Regions from separate parts of the Homo sapiens genome. Here region 2 is linked to region 1. The links are contacts of gene promoters, found by promoter capture Hi-C in blood cells and fetal thymus (Javierre and others, 2016). All regions are on one chromosome and are shown on one strand. Each heading gives the region's core, a stretch centred on a gene start or on the middle of the fragment in contact. The rest is flanking DNA. Distances are from core to core; before and after follow the strand shown.

The links. Contacts are between HindIII fragments. The CHiCAGO score rates a contact against its expected background, and 5 or more counts as called.
Region 2: a fragment that was not itself captured here is called in contact with the fragment with the promoter of MIR155HG in region 1 in 2 of 17 cell types (M1 macrophages and M0 macrophages); the score reaches 6.6 in M1 macrophages.

Annotation. Positions count from the first base shown.
Region 1 is chr21:25,560,372-25,564,528 of GRCh38, reverse strand. It overlaps MIR155HG (MIR155 host gene), which reads right to left and starts at 2,384. Exons shown (of 3, transcript NR_001458.3): 1 at 2,272-2,384. RefSeq lists silencers at 2,040-2,319, 2,330-2,419 and an enhancer at 2,800-2,849. The HindIII fragment of the contact is 13,141 bases long and covers 1-4,157 here.
Region 2 is chr21:24,422,264-24,426,420 of GRCh38, reverse strand. No RefSeq gene overlaps it. Among named protein-coding and RNA genes, the nearest start is that of LINC01684, 4.4 kb to the left of the region's middle. The HindIII fragment of the contact is 1,116 bases long and covers 1,600-2,715 here.

The DNA.
Region 1 (4,157 bases), core at 1,135-3,634:
AAGAGGGTCATGGCTGAGATTCAAGGAAGTCTCTAGCCTGCTAACATCGAATGCAAATTGGTGTGTGAGGATACACATTAACAAAAATTTTCTGGGAAGAGCATATAAAATTTCCATTAGATTCTCAAGGAGGTAGGAATAAAGGATTTTAGTAACTATTACTCTAAAATGAAAGAATTCCTTTAAATTGAATGGCAGATCTTAGTCATGACCTGAAAAGCTGATAAAAAAAAACTTTTCAAAAGTTAAAACCTAGGGCTTTTTGGGGTAGATTTTTTGATTTATAGAGGACTGGTAAGATGAGGTATTTAAAGATGAGGGTTACAAATTTTCCATGTTGGCATATGGAAAGTAAAGAATGGCAAAATTTGTAGCACATTCTAATTAGTTCAAATATCTATGTTACCAAAATTGAAATGATATCAAATTGCACAGCAATGTCCTGATGGCCTTTCCTCTAACTTTCTGGGTTTGTAAGGGTAGGGTTGTGCCTATCCTGCTCACCTTTGTCTCTCCAGTGTCTAGCATAGCGTCCAGCACAGGCAGACTATGATGCCTGTTTTTTTTTTGTTGTTGTTTTTTTTTTTTTTTTTTTGGTAAAGACCAGTGAATTACACTTTTTACACATGACTAGGTTAAAACAAAAGTAGACATTTGTGCAAACACCACTGTTCTCCCTTGAAGTGGTTGTAGGTCTCAGACAGTGCTAATTTTTCTCTTTCTTAATGTGTGTGGTTAGGAAGCTGGGTCCTGTGGCCAGAGTGAGCTGACCCACTATGTGAGGAAACTTACTTATCACAGCCTAATAAGGAGTAGTCCTTGCAGCAGAAGTAATTACTAAATGTGCTTTGGTCATTTGACAGAAATCAGGGAGGCAGCAAGGAGTCATGGAAATGAGCCCAAACTGAGAGTCAAAACCCTGTGGTCTGCCGACACCCCCATCCCACATCCGTACCTAAAAGCAGGCTGTGCACTAGGGACCTAGTGACCTTACTAGAAAAAACTCAAATTCTCTGAGCCACAAGTCCTCATGGGCAAAATGTAGATACCACCACCTAACCCTGCCAATTTCCTATCATTGTGACTATCAAATTAAACCACAGGCAGGAAGTTGCCTTGAAAACTTTTTATAGTGTATATTACTGTTCACATAGATAAGCAATTAACTTTACATATACCCGTTTTTAAAAGATCAGTCCTGTGATTAAAAGTCTGGCTGCCCTAATTCACTTCGATTATACATTAGGTTAAAGCCATATAAAAGAGGCACTACGTCTTCGGAGAGATGAATGGATATTACAAGCAGTAATTTTGGCTTTGGAATATACACATAATGTCCACTTGACCTCATCTATTTGACACAAAATGTAAACTAAATTATGAGCATCATTAGATACCTTGGCCTTTTCAAATCACACAGGGTCCTAGATCTGCTGTGTGATGCTGGAAAAGTAACTTCACTTCTGTGGGCCTCAGCTCCTTAATTTTTAACATACTTTGGATTCTTATATCTTTGTCAGCTGTCAACTTCAGTGTTTTCAGGTTAAATTCTATCCATAGTCATCCCAATATACCTGCTTTAGATGATACAAACTTCAAAAGATCCGGCTCTCCCTCGTAAAACGTGGAGGACAGACATCAAGGGGGTTTTGTGAGTAAAGAAAGGCAACCGCTCGGCAAAAACGCACCCTGGCACAACAGGAGCGAATAAATACAGACGCTGATTGAGCGTTTGCTCCATCTTCACTTCTGTTAAATGAAGACATTGATATCTAAAATGCTATGAGTCTAACTTTGTAAAATTAAAATAGATTTGTAGTTATTTTTCAAAATGAAATCGAAAAGATACAAGTTTTGAAGGCAGTCTCTTTTTCCACCCTGCCCCTCTAGTGTGTTTTACACACTTCTCTGGCCACTCCAACAGGGAAGCTGGTCCAGGGCCATTATACAGGTACGTCCCCAACCATCCAAGGAAACTTTGCAAAGAAGCTCAAGTATTAGGTTTCGAACACCCCTCCTTCCCCCTGCCTCTGCCCGCGGGAATCCATCCAGCGCAATCTCTGGTCCCGGGCGAGGCGACACCACTGAGTCCCCAGGGGGCACCCGCAGGCGCGCGCGGGACCAGGCCGGGCTCCACGGCCACGTGCGCGCTGCCCCCGCCTTGCCTCGCCAGTTAACCCGGCGGTGACCCTCGCACCGAAGTCCCCCGGCGTCCCTGCCACGTTCAAGAGAGGAAAGGCGGGCGGGAGCGCGAGACTGAAGTCGGCGTACCTGCAGTGCCAGGAGCGTCTCCTTGGTTCCCCGCGCTTGCTCTGCGGGCGGCTCGGGGCTCCGCTATCCGCTCCCTTCCCGAGGCTGCAGGCGGCGCTGGGCCCGGGCTCGGCCGCGCACAGGAAGCCCGCGCCTGCGAACGTGCGACCCTTTTATAACTCACTTGTGACTCATAACCGACCAGGCGCCTTTTCTGCAACCCCCCCCCCCTTCTCCCCCCTCCTGCCTGTTCTTGGAACCTACAGCTTGAAAAACTTTTTTCTTTTTAAAGGAAAAGTCGAAAAAGCCCAGCGCCCGGGTAGTTGGTGTTTTCCCCTTTCCCTTTCTCGTGGGTCATTGCGTGTGTGTATTTTTTTTCTCTCAACACACGCCGTGTACTTTCCTGCACCGCGCCGCAAGGCTTGGGCTCCAACCTTTGTTCTTAAAGAAAAGGAAACGCCTTCAAATGACGGCCCAGACGTCGCCCGAACTTTCAGTCGGCTGGAGGGGGAAGTGGCGACTTCTTGCAACTGGGTGGCAGGAGTGTCTCTACTCTCTCCTTGCAGGGAGCCCGAGAGGAGCAAGTGGGAGGTTTTTCCTCCTGGACCGAATCAGCTGGAGACCAGCAGGTCCCTAAGAGAGGAAGAAATGGTCTTCAGGCGATCCTGGATTTCATCCCTACCTCATCACCCTTCAAGAGCCCGCGTTTGGTTTGGAATACGTAACTGGGCTTTGAGAACGTTTGTACTGTGTCTGGTACCCGCATTTATACTCGGGATGTCAAGATATAGGACTTAAAACTTCAAAAATTTTGACCTCAACAACATTCTCCCCCTGCCCTCCACTCCCATCTCCAGGACATATTCCTGGAGCATATGGGACTTCGGTCGTTTTAATTTTTGGTTTTGTCGCTTCTCTCTTTTCTCCCGGACCCTGCCACAAGGGGAACATTTTCCTGGAGCAGCCATTTGATTTTGGGGGATGGAAAGGAACAAATAGATCTAAAGCCTGGCAAGTTTATCCTACAAGCCTAGTCGAGTAACTCATTCATGGGTCTCAGTTCAATAAACGTTTAGACTTGAAGAAGAATAAGGAAATATGGGGAAGAGAAGGAGGACAGGAATAGATCTAGCCTCATCAACATGTGACTGGGGCCTTTTTGTAAGAAAGACGGGGCCACTGCTGGATTGCATTGCAAGTATCCAGTACTTGGACCTCCCTGTCAAGGGCACAAGACATTTTAGAATAGTTTGTATTAAACTGATGCCAGTTACATGTCAGAATACATGTCAGAGCTGGAAATCCCATAGTACTTAATTTACAGATGGCTCAGGTTGGTTAAGGAACTTGGGAGCATTTTAAAACCCTCTATTCTTAAGATACATGCTTTTTCTCTTATAATTCAAACAAGAATAATCATGATGATAACAACTAACACTTATAAAGCATTTACCATGTGCCAGATCCTGTCCTAACACTCCTTATATGCATTAACTCTTTCAGTCCTCACTATGATCATATGAGGGAGGAGCATTATAATCTCTATTTCCAGATGAGGAAACTGAGCACAGAGAGATTAAACATGTTACCTTAGATCCTAGTAAGTAGTCAAGCTGAGATTCAAACTCAGTTCCAACCCTGGAGGGCTGGCTCCGTAGTCCAGTCTCCCTGCTTTCCAGATCCATGTGACGTTGAGGAGCTGGGGAAGTTGTGCAGTGGGGCATGTGGCAAGGATGCATGGTCCCCACCCAGGTGGGGCACGTCCCTCTGCTGGTTACAGATGCCTACAATGCCTTTCTGAATTTCCCATTTCTCATTCTAGGTTGAACTATAAGAAATTGCCCATAGGCAATTCTAGGGTGACCTTTCATCCCCAGAATGACAAGTTTGTATAATGCACTTTAATA
Region 2 (4,157 bases), core at 908-3,407, 1.1 Mb after region 1:
TTATTATAAGAGTGTTTTGAGAAAGTTAGCTAAAGCGTTAGCAGAGAAACACTCAACAAAGCTTCACTACCATGACAATGTTCCTGCTCATTCTTCTCCTAAAACAAAAACAATATTGTGAGAATTTCAATGAGAAATTATTAGCCATCCACTTTCCAGTCCTGATTTGGTGCCTTCTGGCAATTTCTGGGTTTCCTAACTTTTAAAATTATGTAAAGAACAGCCATTTATTTATGTAATAATATAAAAACAGACTGCATTGACATGGTTAAATTCCAAGGACTCTCATTCCTTTATGGAGGGACTAAATGTTTGGAGTCACTTATAAAAGTGTTTTGAACTTAATGGAGTGTCTGTTGAGAAATAAAGTTTGTATTTTTTATTTTTATATTTTAATTCAATTTTTCCATGAATTTTTGAAGTCTCATTATAGCTTCACGTTTAAATTGGGATGTGGAAGTTGACTCCAGGCTTTTGATTATTTATGATTCTTATTAATTTTTAAAAATTATTATTACTTAGGTGATGGCTCAGTTTTTCACACAGTTATGGTTGTTACCCCTCCTGTGAAGGCATTTGAATTTGTTAAAAACAAAGTATGAATTTAAAAGCATGAATTATTTTAAAAAGTCTGTGATCTCTAGACATCTGGCCTTGTATATTTTATTATTTCTTTGTGAATATAACATTGCTTTAAACTCTTACTCTCAAATTCTCGGCACATCACTGCATCCTCAGGACATCCTCTATCATGATTCTGCCAAGGTCAAATAGTTAGTAATTCACAATATCCATAGCTCAAATTCATTAAGCTCTCACTATGCTTCAGAGAATGTTGTTTCAGAGCATTTTACATAAACTTCACATGCATCATCGTTAGCATCCTTACACTGGCTAAAATTTTTTATAAACACAATTGCTCACTACATGAAGCATTCCCTTTATATTCTTTTAAAACAGAAACTAAAACTTTCAAAGTTTGTGTAACTTACCTAATGTTATATGGCTTTGAAATTTCAGAAAATGATGGAACTTTTTTGAGCACTATATTATACTGCCATATTTCACTTATTATTATTTTAATTTATGACACTTCTTCATTACCAGTTATACAAGTTGGAATGTAACATTCATATCTGAAACTTTTTTTAAAAAAAGTTGAGGAGTTTATTAGGGAAACATGAGAGGCATAGACACTCCAAGTGACAGAAAGAAAAGTCTGAAAATGTCCCTTCAAGCCAAGTGGGGGCCTGGCCTCGACCTCCCCAAATCAACAGGGCAACTTTTTTTATCATCATCTCTTCATATATGTGAGTACGAGATCCACTGGGGTAAGACAGATTCTGGTTTGACTTACAGCTGAATCTCAGACACCCTGTACAGTGCCTGACATGTAGAAGTGGATGAATCATTTGTGGAAGAAAATGAGGAAGGCGTAAAGGAAGAAAGAAAAGAGAAAGGAAGGGGGAGATGATTAAAAAAGAAAGGTGAAAAGGAGGAAGGGCAGAAAAGAGAAAGCAGAAGAACTTGCAGTTTTGTGTTTTAGATTCAGCGTGGTGGACAATATTGAGGAACAAGCCATTCCATTTTTCTCAAGCTTACTTAATTCCACATATTTGCCTTTTGTGATAATTTAGCTATGTCCACACCTAATTATAAAAGAGGGGGAGACATGTATTTTAGTTGGGCAGTCATGTTAATTATCTCTGCTAATTATCTCTGCTGAAGATAAAAGGGGTAAAATTTGGTAATATCATAGGGGTTTTAGCCACAAACACTTTGCCTAAATTCCTTTGCAATCCCTACTCTGTATATATAAAATATATTTTTCTTTATAGAAGGAATCCAATTTCCAATCCTTCCATGACACCTTTCCTAATTTTACTGTGTAACATATGCAATATATTAGCATTCAATTATATATTAAATTAATTTAGTGACCTGACTGTGAATATTATCTATCATAGCCAGTCTCTCTTCCACTTTCTCTGTCCTCGCTATGCTATTATCCTTGTTGTTTCTTGAATAGCCAAACATGACTCCGGCTTAAGGCTTTTGCTTTCACTGGTCCTGCTCCCTAATCAAATTCTCTCTGTCACTGTCAAGGTTCACACCCTCATTTTTAGATTCTTCATTCAGATACTGTCTTCTCATTAATGTGAACTTCTCTGAACATCCGCTTGAAAATCCCAAAGTCCCCATGATTTCAATCTGTTTCTCTGATTATTTGTTCCCTTGGCTTTTATTATTAAGTTACCATTTGTTTTGCTTATTTGTTTTCCCATGTCTAGAGGGCAAAGATATTTCCCCCCTTGTTTACTGCCTTATCCTCCACATTAGCATTACTACATGTTTAATAATTATGTACTGAGAAAATCATTATTTGCCATAAATATAACACCATCGGTATAGAGATCAATTTGTGTTAGAACAAAATGTGACTATTTTTACATTTTTGCACGGTCATGACTTTCTGGGCAAAATGTACTGGCAATCCAACTTAAAAGAAAATGAGGAAGAGGCAAACAAGTCCTGGAAATTAAAGATAAAAACCCTAGGGAAATTTACAAATTCATCATCTCTAGAGCCATTCATTTACATAACAACAGGTAATCAATTTCTAACCCATTCATTTACATTTTAAAGAGTTGAAGCAACTTAGGGACCTTTTTGTACACTTCCCAGAGGGGATTTGTTTACATTAGAGAAAAAGCTTTCTCTTCTTTCTCAAGAAGGGAAGAAAAAATATGTACAAATTGCCCTATGTAAGTTTGGAGATTTTGTAAGGGTGGAGCTCCAATCCTGTACTGCAGATGCCTCTTCTATATGTGCAGGTTACTTCTGTAGAAATGAAACAAGCAGAACCTGTGTTAAGATATTCTATAAGCAAATGATATTTTTAACCTCTGATTCATAAACTTTGTTTTTACTGTCAGATTTTAAAAAATAAATATAAATATAAAAAATATCAATTTAGGTAAAGAAGGTGGAATCTTGTCATAAACATGATTAGCTGGAAAAAAAAAAAGCAAGGGCCCATTAGCTAGTAGATATTGGTAGCAAGCATACTGACTAAATCATTTAGCCAATTAGTAATATGTGGTTCTCCTCCTTTTTCTTTAATGAGGAATTAAGAAGATGTTTGTTACGTAGGAAGTAGGATTAATACAAGGAGCTTAATTGTTGCTGCTGTTTTTCACTTTCTCCTCCAAAGAGAAGTGAAAGATTATTTAATTTCTATAGCTGGAACATGGTTTGGGGAAGCTCAGCTGCTATTCTTGAACCTGAAAGGAACTGTGTCTCATTCACTGACACAGATATAAGCTTTTCCATGTTCACCTGATCTCTTGTGCCCTTCTACAAAGGACTTTACTACTTTAAAAATTAGGGGTGAGTCCAAGGTCTCACTGTGGATGTTATACCCCATATTTGGAAATTTCAAGCAGAGAAGGATTTTAATTGTTATGGCTCTTTTGGATACTGGCACGTGAATGCCCATTCTTTTATGGATAGTGGGTACAGAGGTGGCTAAAGGCACCAAGAAATTTAGGATGGAACCAAGGTAGGATCTGAGGGGACACAGTAAATGATCCCTTGGGCCGTGTTTACTCCACATGCACAGTGATAAAAACTCTGTTGTCAAGTAGTCAAAAAGGAGAGAGAGAGAACATGTGTGCCCAAGAGAGTGTACAAACATGCTCACTCTCCTGTTGCTTAAGTGATCTCTTAGAGAGCTTTTGGCACTTCAGTTCCACCTTTGCATTACAAATTTTCTAGCCAGGAAATAACAGGATCTCAGGATCTTGTGGCAGCTGTGAGTTTATCTCTAAAACAATAAAATAATGGCTTTGAGCAAAATTTGTTGTGGAGAAAAAAATAATTAAATGTTTTATTGTAGTGTTTCATTGCTTCTGTCTTTGAGTGTATTTTAGGAATTGATGTGTTATGTTATTTGCTTGTTATTTTCTATCTCATAAGCTCCAGAGTAGACTATCCCAATAAAGCAATAGGGGAAAGTTGTAATTACACAAGTGAGACACACTCCTCTGCCCTTTACAACCAGCAGGTAGTTTGGATTCAATACAAATGCCTCTAGTCTCTAAGGTCTGGCAGTCTTGCAATTCAAATTCTATCTCTTTTGCTCCTAACCAAGAAAA